Linked DNA regions of Homo sapiens: region 1 is linked to region 2. The links are contacts of gene promoters, found by promoter capture Hi-C in human tissues and cell types (Jung and others, 2019). All regions are on one chromosome and are shown on one strand. Each heading gives the region's core, a stretch centred on a gene start or on the middle of the fragment in contact. The rest is flanking DNA. Distances are from core to core; before and after follow the strand shown. Region 1 overlaps SCN5A (sodium voltage-gated channel alpha subunit 5). Region 2 holds the start of SCN5A (sodium voltage-gated channel alpha subunit 5).

What was found. The method cuts DNA at HindIII sites, captures the fragments that hold promoters and counts their contacts. A contact is called where the count stands out against the background at its distance.
Region 1: a contact is called between a fragment that was not itself captured here and the fragment with the promoter of SCN5A in region 2, in 1 of the 25 tissues and cell types used here (H1 embryonic stem cells).

Annotation. Positions count from the first base shown.
Region 1 is chr3:38,595,811-38,599,774 of GRCh38, forward strand. It overlaps SCN5A (sodium voltage-gated channel alpha subunit 5), which reads right to left. Exons shown (of 28, transcript NM_000335.5): 13 at 3,108-3,240; 14 at 1,919-2,157. Among named protein-coding and RNA genes, the nearest start is that of SCN5A, 52 kb to the right of the region's middle. The HindIII fragment of the contact is 8,541 bases long and covers 1-3,964 here.
Region 2 is chr3:38,647,598-38,651,627 of GRCh38, forward strand. It overlaps SCN5A (sodium voltage-gated channel alpha subunit 5), which reads right to left and starts at 2,090. Exons shown (of 28, transcript NM_000335.5): 1 at 1,934-2,090. RefSeq lists a silencer at 2,049-2,208. The HindIII fragment of the contact is 3,470 bases long and covers 129-3,598 here.

The DNA.
Region 1 (3,964 bases), core at 1,240-3,739, 51 kb before region 2:
ATGCACTTAGCTATGTAATTCAAAGGATGTTTCCTGTATTTTAAATTGTTTATTAATAGGAGACTTTTCAGATTTTCTTGTCCATAATGTTGCTGGAAACAGAAGTTTCATTTGCCTTTTACTTTTATTTGTGTGATGGGCTAAAAAGTTAGCTAAATCTATCAGTCTTCTCCTTTGTGGAATTTGTCTTCAGAGACATGCTTAGAAAGGCTTTTCCCATGCTGATTATTTACTCATGCTTATTTTTATGGTTTTGTTTCTTAACACTTAATATTTAAACTACCTAGAATATATTAAATGCAATAAAATCAAAACCTTACATATTAGTAATAAAGCTATTCAAACAGAACAAAATATAGCTATAACACAACTACATTGCCTGTTATCAATATTTTAACGACAAGTTTAGTACAATGCAGTTCAGCTACAACTTGCTGACCCAGTGAAGCCACCAGTGCTGTTCATCACACCTAACTTGCTGCTCAGTCCAACCCAATGGTCACAACCTGATAAAAACACACTCAACTGAAACCCTGCATAACTACCATCTGAAGACCACCCAACATTTCCAACAGTGCCATGAGACTTCTACCCACTGAGATGTAGCTTTGCCTTCTGTTTGCACATAGAAGGAAAGAAAAGTAAAATTACAGCAAGTTGACTCAAATTGGTGAAAAAATCTGAATAGGCCCTGCAGAGAACTACCTAGAGTCCTGGGTTTGGAAAGTAAGAAGAAAAGAAAATCCTCCTACCCCACAGTGTGAGAGACCTACCTGCCTATGGGGGGTCACTTGAACAGCTGGGCCTGAGACAGGCTGGGTCTTCAGTAAGAACAAGCTTAGATCAAATGGGGCCAGAAGTCCCCCTACCACCCCCACACCAGCCTCGATGATGATCTCACAAGCTCCTTTTTAAGGCCAGTGGGATCATGGCAACTCTGCCCTGGGATCCTCTAAAGATGGGCTGACTCTGTTTACCTCGACTGATCCAATATGGCCCTGTCCTGGGAGTTGAGAGATGACCAACTCTGCCCCTGCCATGTCATCCCTCCTGTCTCTGGGCCTCAGTTTCCCTATCTGTATAATAAAGAGGCAGGACTTGATTTGGTATCAAGAAAAAAAAAATCAGAATTAGAATCCAGACATTCTGACTTCCAGGAGCAGTCTAACAACAACAACAATAGCACAGCTATCATTTGTTTTGAGTGCTTACTGTTTATCAATCTATGAGCCAAGCATATTATACACATTATCTTATACAGTCCTCATTACCTTCCTATGAGGTTGATATTGTCATACTAATTTCACATTTATTGAATTCAACAAATATTTATTGGGCCAATTACTGAGTAAACTGCTTGAGATCAGCTAGTTAGTAAGAGCTGAGTCAGAATTCAAATCTGGCTCTGCCTGATTTACTTACTACACCCAGCTATCCATCCATCTGTCCATCCATCCATCCATCCATCCATCCATCCATCCATCCCTCCATCCTTCCCTCCTTCTATCCAACCATCCATCCACAATTTCCCCCATCCAACAACACTGATGCAAGCTCCGTCCATAAGAGAACTACTTCCTTCTGCACGCATTCTCCTCCACCTACAAATTACAAAATCTCAAGTCTCCACACATTTCAGGTTTACCCCCAGCTCACTTTTGTTTTCTAGATTCTGGGCATCTGCATAAACTTCTTTTCACTCCACCCTCCCACTCCAAATCTACATTTCTCAGCTCCTTAGAAGCCGACCCTGAGATTCCCTCCCTCCTCCAAGATGTCCTCTATGATGATTCCCACCCTCAAAAGATCCTTCTGTGTGCAGGATCCCTTCTTCCTTACCCATGAAGGCTGTGCCAGCTGCCCGAGGTCCCCTCCTGCCAGGATGCCCATTTGAGAGCCAGCTGCAGGCAGCCCTTACCAGGTTTCCGACCTGCAGCATCTCCTCGAATTCACTTGTCATGTTGTAGTGCTCCAGCGCCATGAAGAGTGTGTTGAGTACGATGCACATAGTGATGGTGAGGTCAGTAAACGGGTCCATGACCACCAACTTCACTCCCTGCTTGATGGACATCCACAGCGGGCAGCACTCCCAGATCAGGTAGCGCTGGGCGAGACGGTTCCAGCATGGTGGACACTTGTGGCGAGACTCCTCTAACTCTGAGGGGACAGCCAATGAGTTAGTTTGATTCTGTTGACTGAGTCATATGTAACTGGAATACCTTCCAGGAAAGATTTATGACTTGCTCTGGGAGATGACAGGGCTGCTAGGTGACAGCGGGACAGTGGGAGCAGGGAAGGCCAAGGGAGTGGGTGGCCTGTGTCCTGGCTCCTTAATCTGGAAATATGAGAGAAGAGGTCCATAGGGACAGGAAACAAAGATGGAGGTGGGGAAAATGGGGACAGGAGAGATTATCAGGACAAACGTACAACTGCTTAAGACAACAGTCCCACATAGACCTGGGGACACTCAGGGGAGGACAGGCTGAAAATGATGAGACAGTAATGGGGACATGCAAGTTCAGACACGAGGACACCTGGGACAGAATGGGCAGGGACAGATGTGGACATCTGGGATGTGTCAGGACAAATGGGAGAGGGGATGCCAAGGACAGGCTGGAAAAGATGAGAATACATCCGAGATAGGAGGGAACAAGATCAGGATGGGGGGTGCCCCATTCAGACTGGAAGGGATGTGGAGTTGCCTAGGGCAGGAATGGCTGGGAAAGATGTAGGATGCCTGGAATAGTCTGAAGTAGATATGGGAATAGCTAGAACAGGCATGGGTATGCTCAGGACAGGATGGTCCTAGATAGACATGGTTATGGTTGGGAGATGATGGAATGAGACTGACAAGCATCTGGGACAGGCCAGATGTGGGAGTATTTGGGAGAAACACAGGCATGGTGATACCCAGGAGAGAACAAGCTGAAACAGATGAAAAGACATGGAAGGACAGGCAAGGCTACACAGAACAGAGAAGGCTGGGACAGTGTGGGGATGTCTAAAGCAGGCCAAGACAAATGGGGGATGCCTGGGTCAGGCTGGGATAAAGATGAGGGTACCTGCAGCGGAAGTGGGGGGTGCTTAAATGACCTGGGGTTGCTGACCTTCCAGTGCGCTGGTGAGGACGCTGACTGCGCTGAGGGCCCGCTGCCGTGCTCCTGGCTCCTCGAAGCCATCTACACACGGAGCCTGGGAGGTCAGCATCTGGGGCCCGCCTGGCTCCTCCGATGGCGTGGTCTGAGTGCAATCAGGAGATTTGCGTCAGCCTGGGGAAAAGGGTCCTGCCCCCAGCTCCTGTCCTGCTGGACCTGGGGAGGCCGGTCCAGACTCAGGCTGGGGATGCCACAGGGATAGGATGAAGGTCTTGATGGGACACTGGATGCTGGGCTTCTCTGTTCCCAACTCCCTCCCAGTTAAGAACTCCCTCCACCCCTCCTCCCAATCACTGTCTCCTTCATTCTCCTTTCTTCTTCACTGCCTCTCATCAGCAGTGATTCCTGAGTGTGGTCAGGAAGCTACACATATCACAGGTCCTCCCTGAGCCTGATGCTGCCATACACATTAGTACATGCAAAAATGATCTGGGAGTCTTAACTGACCACAAGTTTCCTAGCGTCAAGAGCATAAAGAAGCTGAAAAAAAAATCTAACATGCTCTAAGATAATGCTAATAGCAGGATAAAGTACAATGCTTACATATGGCTGGTGGGGGGCTGTGTCTTTTGTGGAGGCAGTTAGGCTGGATTTACCAAGAAAATTTTAAATTGGCCCTCAAGTCCTCGTCTAGTAATCTAACTTCATAAATAATTACACATGTGCATCAAAAATACACATAAATGATGTTCATTGCAGCAGTGTTCCTAATACCATAAGAACAAAACACCAATCAATAGCAACCATATTCAAATCAATTATAGACACAGTCCAACTCTGGGCTCTGATAGACAACAAAGAGAACGAGG
Region 2 (4,030 bases), core at 840-3,339:
CTGTCCCTGGCTGCCCTCAGGACTCCCTTCTCTTTGGATTGCCTGGGCACCAGCCTCCGCTCTTCTCCCATCCCCAGCTGTCTCTGGTGCTTCCCACTAGTCCTCCAAGCCCAATCTTCATGCTGAGTGAGTCAATACTAGAATTTTTCCAGAGGAGCTTTGATCAACACACAGAGAGGGAGCCGAGCACCTTGGAGCACAGCAGCTGCCCTTGCCACATTGGGCTGAATGCTGGCTCTTGGCACCCCAGGGCCAGTTCCCCTTCTGCTCAGATCCTCCTGGCTCAGTTCTAGGCTTATTTGCCCCACAGAAAGTAGATCTCAAGGTGTCTTCACATTGCGTGGTGCCCCCAATCCACTGATTCTCTAGATGACATTGAATAAGTCCTTGAGCTCCTCTGGGCCTCAGTTTCCCCACTTGTATGATATGGTAGTGATGACATGATTAAAAGTTTAATGAGGCTCTTTTCAGCACAGAGCTGGACACTGTAACATAGAATCTGTGTTCCACACCCTGGCTGTCACCTGACCTCACCCTCTCCATGCTCCTGCAACAGCAGCCTGACCACCCTCATTCCACCTCGCACTCATTACCACCGATTCATATGCACCTGCCCAATTCTAACTGAGTGGAGATGAGGTCAAACAGATGGAGTTGAGGGCAGCGGCAATGGCCTGGGCCCCCAGTAGCTGGGGCCTCTGCTGCTCACGGTCCCACTAGATCCTGAAGGATGGTGGGAACCTGGGAGAGGGCTTGGGATGCCATGGCATGGTGGGGGTCACGTGGTTTGCCATCTGGATGATACTGCCTAGGCTCACTGGGAGACACACCTGGGGTCTCAGCAGGAGGCGAGCAGATGCCTGGGAATGGAACATAGGCCCAGGACCTTAAGAGGAGATAGATCCCATGGCCCGGGGCTGGGCTGAAGGCACTGAGGAGCACAAGAGTGAGTCCTGCACTATCTTAGCCATGGCATCCTGATCTGGCTGTGCTCTGCTCTCCAACAGGTGTTTGCAAGGCAGGCCTACAGCCAGGGACTTGTCCCCAACATCATTTCCCCCCATCCTCATCACCACCACTAACAGTCCCCACACCTCTGGCCCCCACCAGCTCTTGGCCTCTCGGACAAAGCTTGGCACCTCCACTTTCTTCCAGAGCGCCACCAAAGACGATCAAATAACACAGAGGTCGAGAGCCACCTCCCATCAGGGTGCGTGGATCTGTTCCGGCTCAGAGAGAGGAGGGCAGAGAACTCTCTCCAATCTCACCGCAAAGAGATCTCCACCCCTTCGAGAAGCACAGAGATCAGACAGAGGAGATGCGGCCCCTTTAGGGCGTCAAAGGGCACCGAGATCTCTACATGGTCTAAACGCGCAGAGATCTCGTCCCACAGAGAGGACAGCCCCAGCGGACGGTTCCCCCTGGGCCCAGAGAAAGGGGGTGCGTGGCTTCCTCCCCCATATCCAGCCCTGCTCGGTCAGCCCCCGCAAACCCCGCTCTCTGGAACCACATTCATGGCGCGCCTAGTCGCCGCTCTGACCTTGGGGTCTCCGGCCTCCGGTATCCGGGTCCCAATCCCAGACCCTCCCCGAGCCTGCGCCAGGGATGGCCGGGAAGCTGGGGCCGCAGCTCCCCCTCCCCCGGCCCTCGACAGCGCACCGGGAAACCCGGAAGGAAAGGGAAGGGAAGGGGGGCGCACGGTGTTTAGAGACGTCTCCCCCGGGGATACCCTCCAGCCGGGCGGATCTGCGCCCCTTCTCCCCCTCCGGCTCTCTGGGGCACTGATCGGGGAGGGAGCGGCTGGGCGGACCCGGGGCAGGGAGGAGCACGCAGGGACTGGAGGCTTCGGCCCTCGGGGAGGAAAGTTGGGCGGCGGCAGGCGGAGGGGGCTCCGGCCGGGCCAGGGCTGCCGGGCGCGGGGGCACTCGCTCACCTGCTGGTCCCCCGGCCGGGCCCCGGGGTGGGCGGCTGCTGCTTGGCGCGGACTCGGCTCGGCGCGGGGCTCGGGGCACTGGGCGCAGGCTCAGCGGCCCCGGGGGAGCGATCCCTGCATCCTACGGGCGCCGCCGCCGTCTCGGCTCCGCGGCTCTGTTCGGGCTCCCGGGCTGGGCAGGCGGCGCGGGCTCGGGCTGGGGGCGGGGTCGGGGGCGGGGTCGGGGCGGGCCCCGCCTGGGTTCGGCCTGGGGCTTGGGGCCCCGGGCTGGCTCCGCCCCAGAGCGACGCGCCCAGGGCTCCGCACGTGGTGCTCCGCCCGCTCGGAGGGGGGACACACCAGCGCCCGCCGGGGCGCACACTCCCACACTGACCCGGGGGCTCACAGCCACAGACAGCCGCACACGCGGCCGCGGACAGACAGACATAGGCGGGGGTACACACACGGCGACCCGGCGACGCTTCACCACAGATGGCCACCCACGCGGACGCGGACAGGCTCACATTAACAAACACTGGCATACACACCAGCACCCGCCAGAGTATACACACACACACACGCAACCTTGCTGACTTGGGAAGGCTACCAGACACCCACCCACCCACGTGGACACGGGCATACACTGACACTCATGCCGAGACAGACACACGCTGCCATAGGCATACCTGCACTGACACAGACACACACATGCACCCTGAGACAGATACACACCCCCACACACCCACACAGACACAGACAGACACATCATTGACACACACTGACACTGAGGAAGACACTCTGACAAACTTAGACACCCACATGACTTAGACACACATCCACTGACACACTGACACAGAGACACACACACTCACTCGAACCACACTTTCCTGGAGACACACTTAGTGATGCCACAGAAATCTGCACAATGGTACACATCTACCTGAACACACGGACGCACATGCTGACAGAACCAAACACACACCCAGACCCAGAAGCAAGCAGGCAACCAACACAGAGACACCCACACACGCGCGCGCGCAAACACACACACACACATACATATATATACATGTATATACCTCTTTATATATATACTTCCACCCTCTTGAGCCACATACAACCTTCACCTTGACACATGCAGAGCCTGGAGTCACATACTTACACACCCACTGTTTCTCACTCAGAGACATGGTCACAGGCACACACACACGGAGACATACGCTGACAAACAGTTGCTCCCATGCCCATGCCCAGGACCTATGGGGACACACTTCTTGTTTAAACAAAACAGGCCATCAGGGCAACCCGCTTGGGTCCCCTTCCACGCTGTGGAAGCTTTGTTCTTTCCCTCTTCACAATAAATCTTGCGCTTCTAAAAACAAAAACAAAAACAAAACAAAACAACAACAAAAAACAGGCCATCAGCTTTTGCCCACGAAAAAAGTACAGTCATTGGAAGGGATGGTACACTTTTCTGCCACATTTTCAGGGCTCCCAAAAGCAAGAACCGCTCTTAGAGAGCCAAATGGGTGCCAGGGTCTCAGAGGGCACAGAGGTGCTGGGTTTGGGAGCCCAGAGGCTGGGACCTGCTCCTCCATGATGGGGATCTTGAAGAGGTGGGAGGGCAAAGAGGGGGGTGGGGGACAGCGTCCGTTTGCGACCTGGGTGTGGGGCTTCGTTGGACGCCTTAGGTACATACGGAGGGGCTGCTCTGCTTGCAGGAGGGGATCAGTAGGAAAGTCAGTCCACAGGAAAGTTCAGGACATGGGCCTCTCCGGCCCCGAGTTGAGTGGGGTGTCTGGGGTACAGACGGATGGACCACACAGGTCGGCTGCCAGCCTTTAGCGCCTGACGAGCCTCAGGTTGGCTAGCAGCTCCCACTATCGGCCAGAAGGGGAAGTGCAGGCAGTGTCAACGTTTCAACCCACGTGCAGCCGCCTTCCCAGAGTCACACCTACCAGGCAGGAGAGTACAGTAGCAGGAAGGTCCTACCTCCCCTAAGAACTTCCATCACGGGCTTCTCGGCCTCAGAATGAAGCTTCTACTTGCAAACTGACATTGGGTCAAGCAGGAGACAAGGCTAGGATAGAAGCTGCTGGGAGTAGGGGTGGATACCTG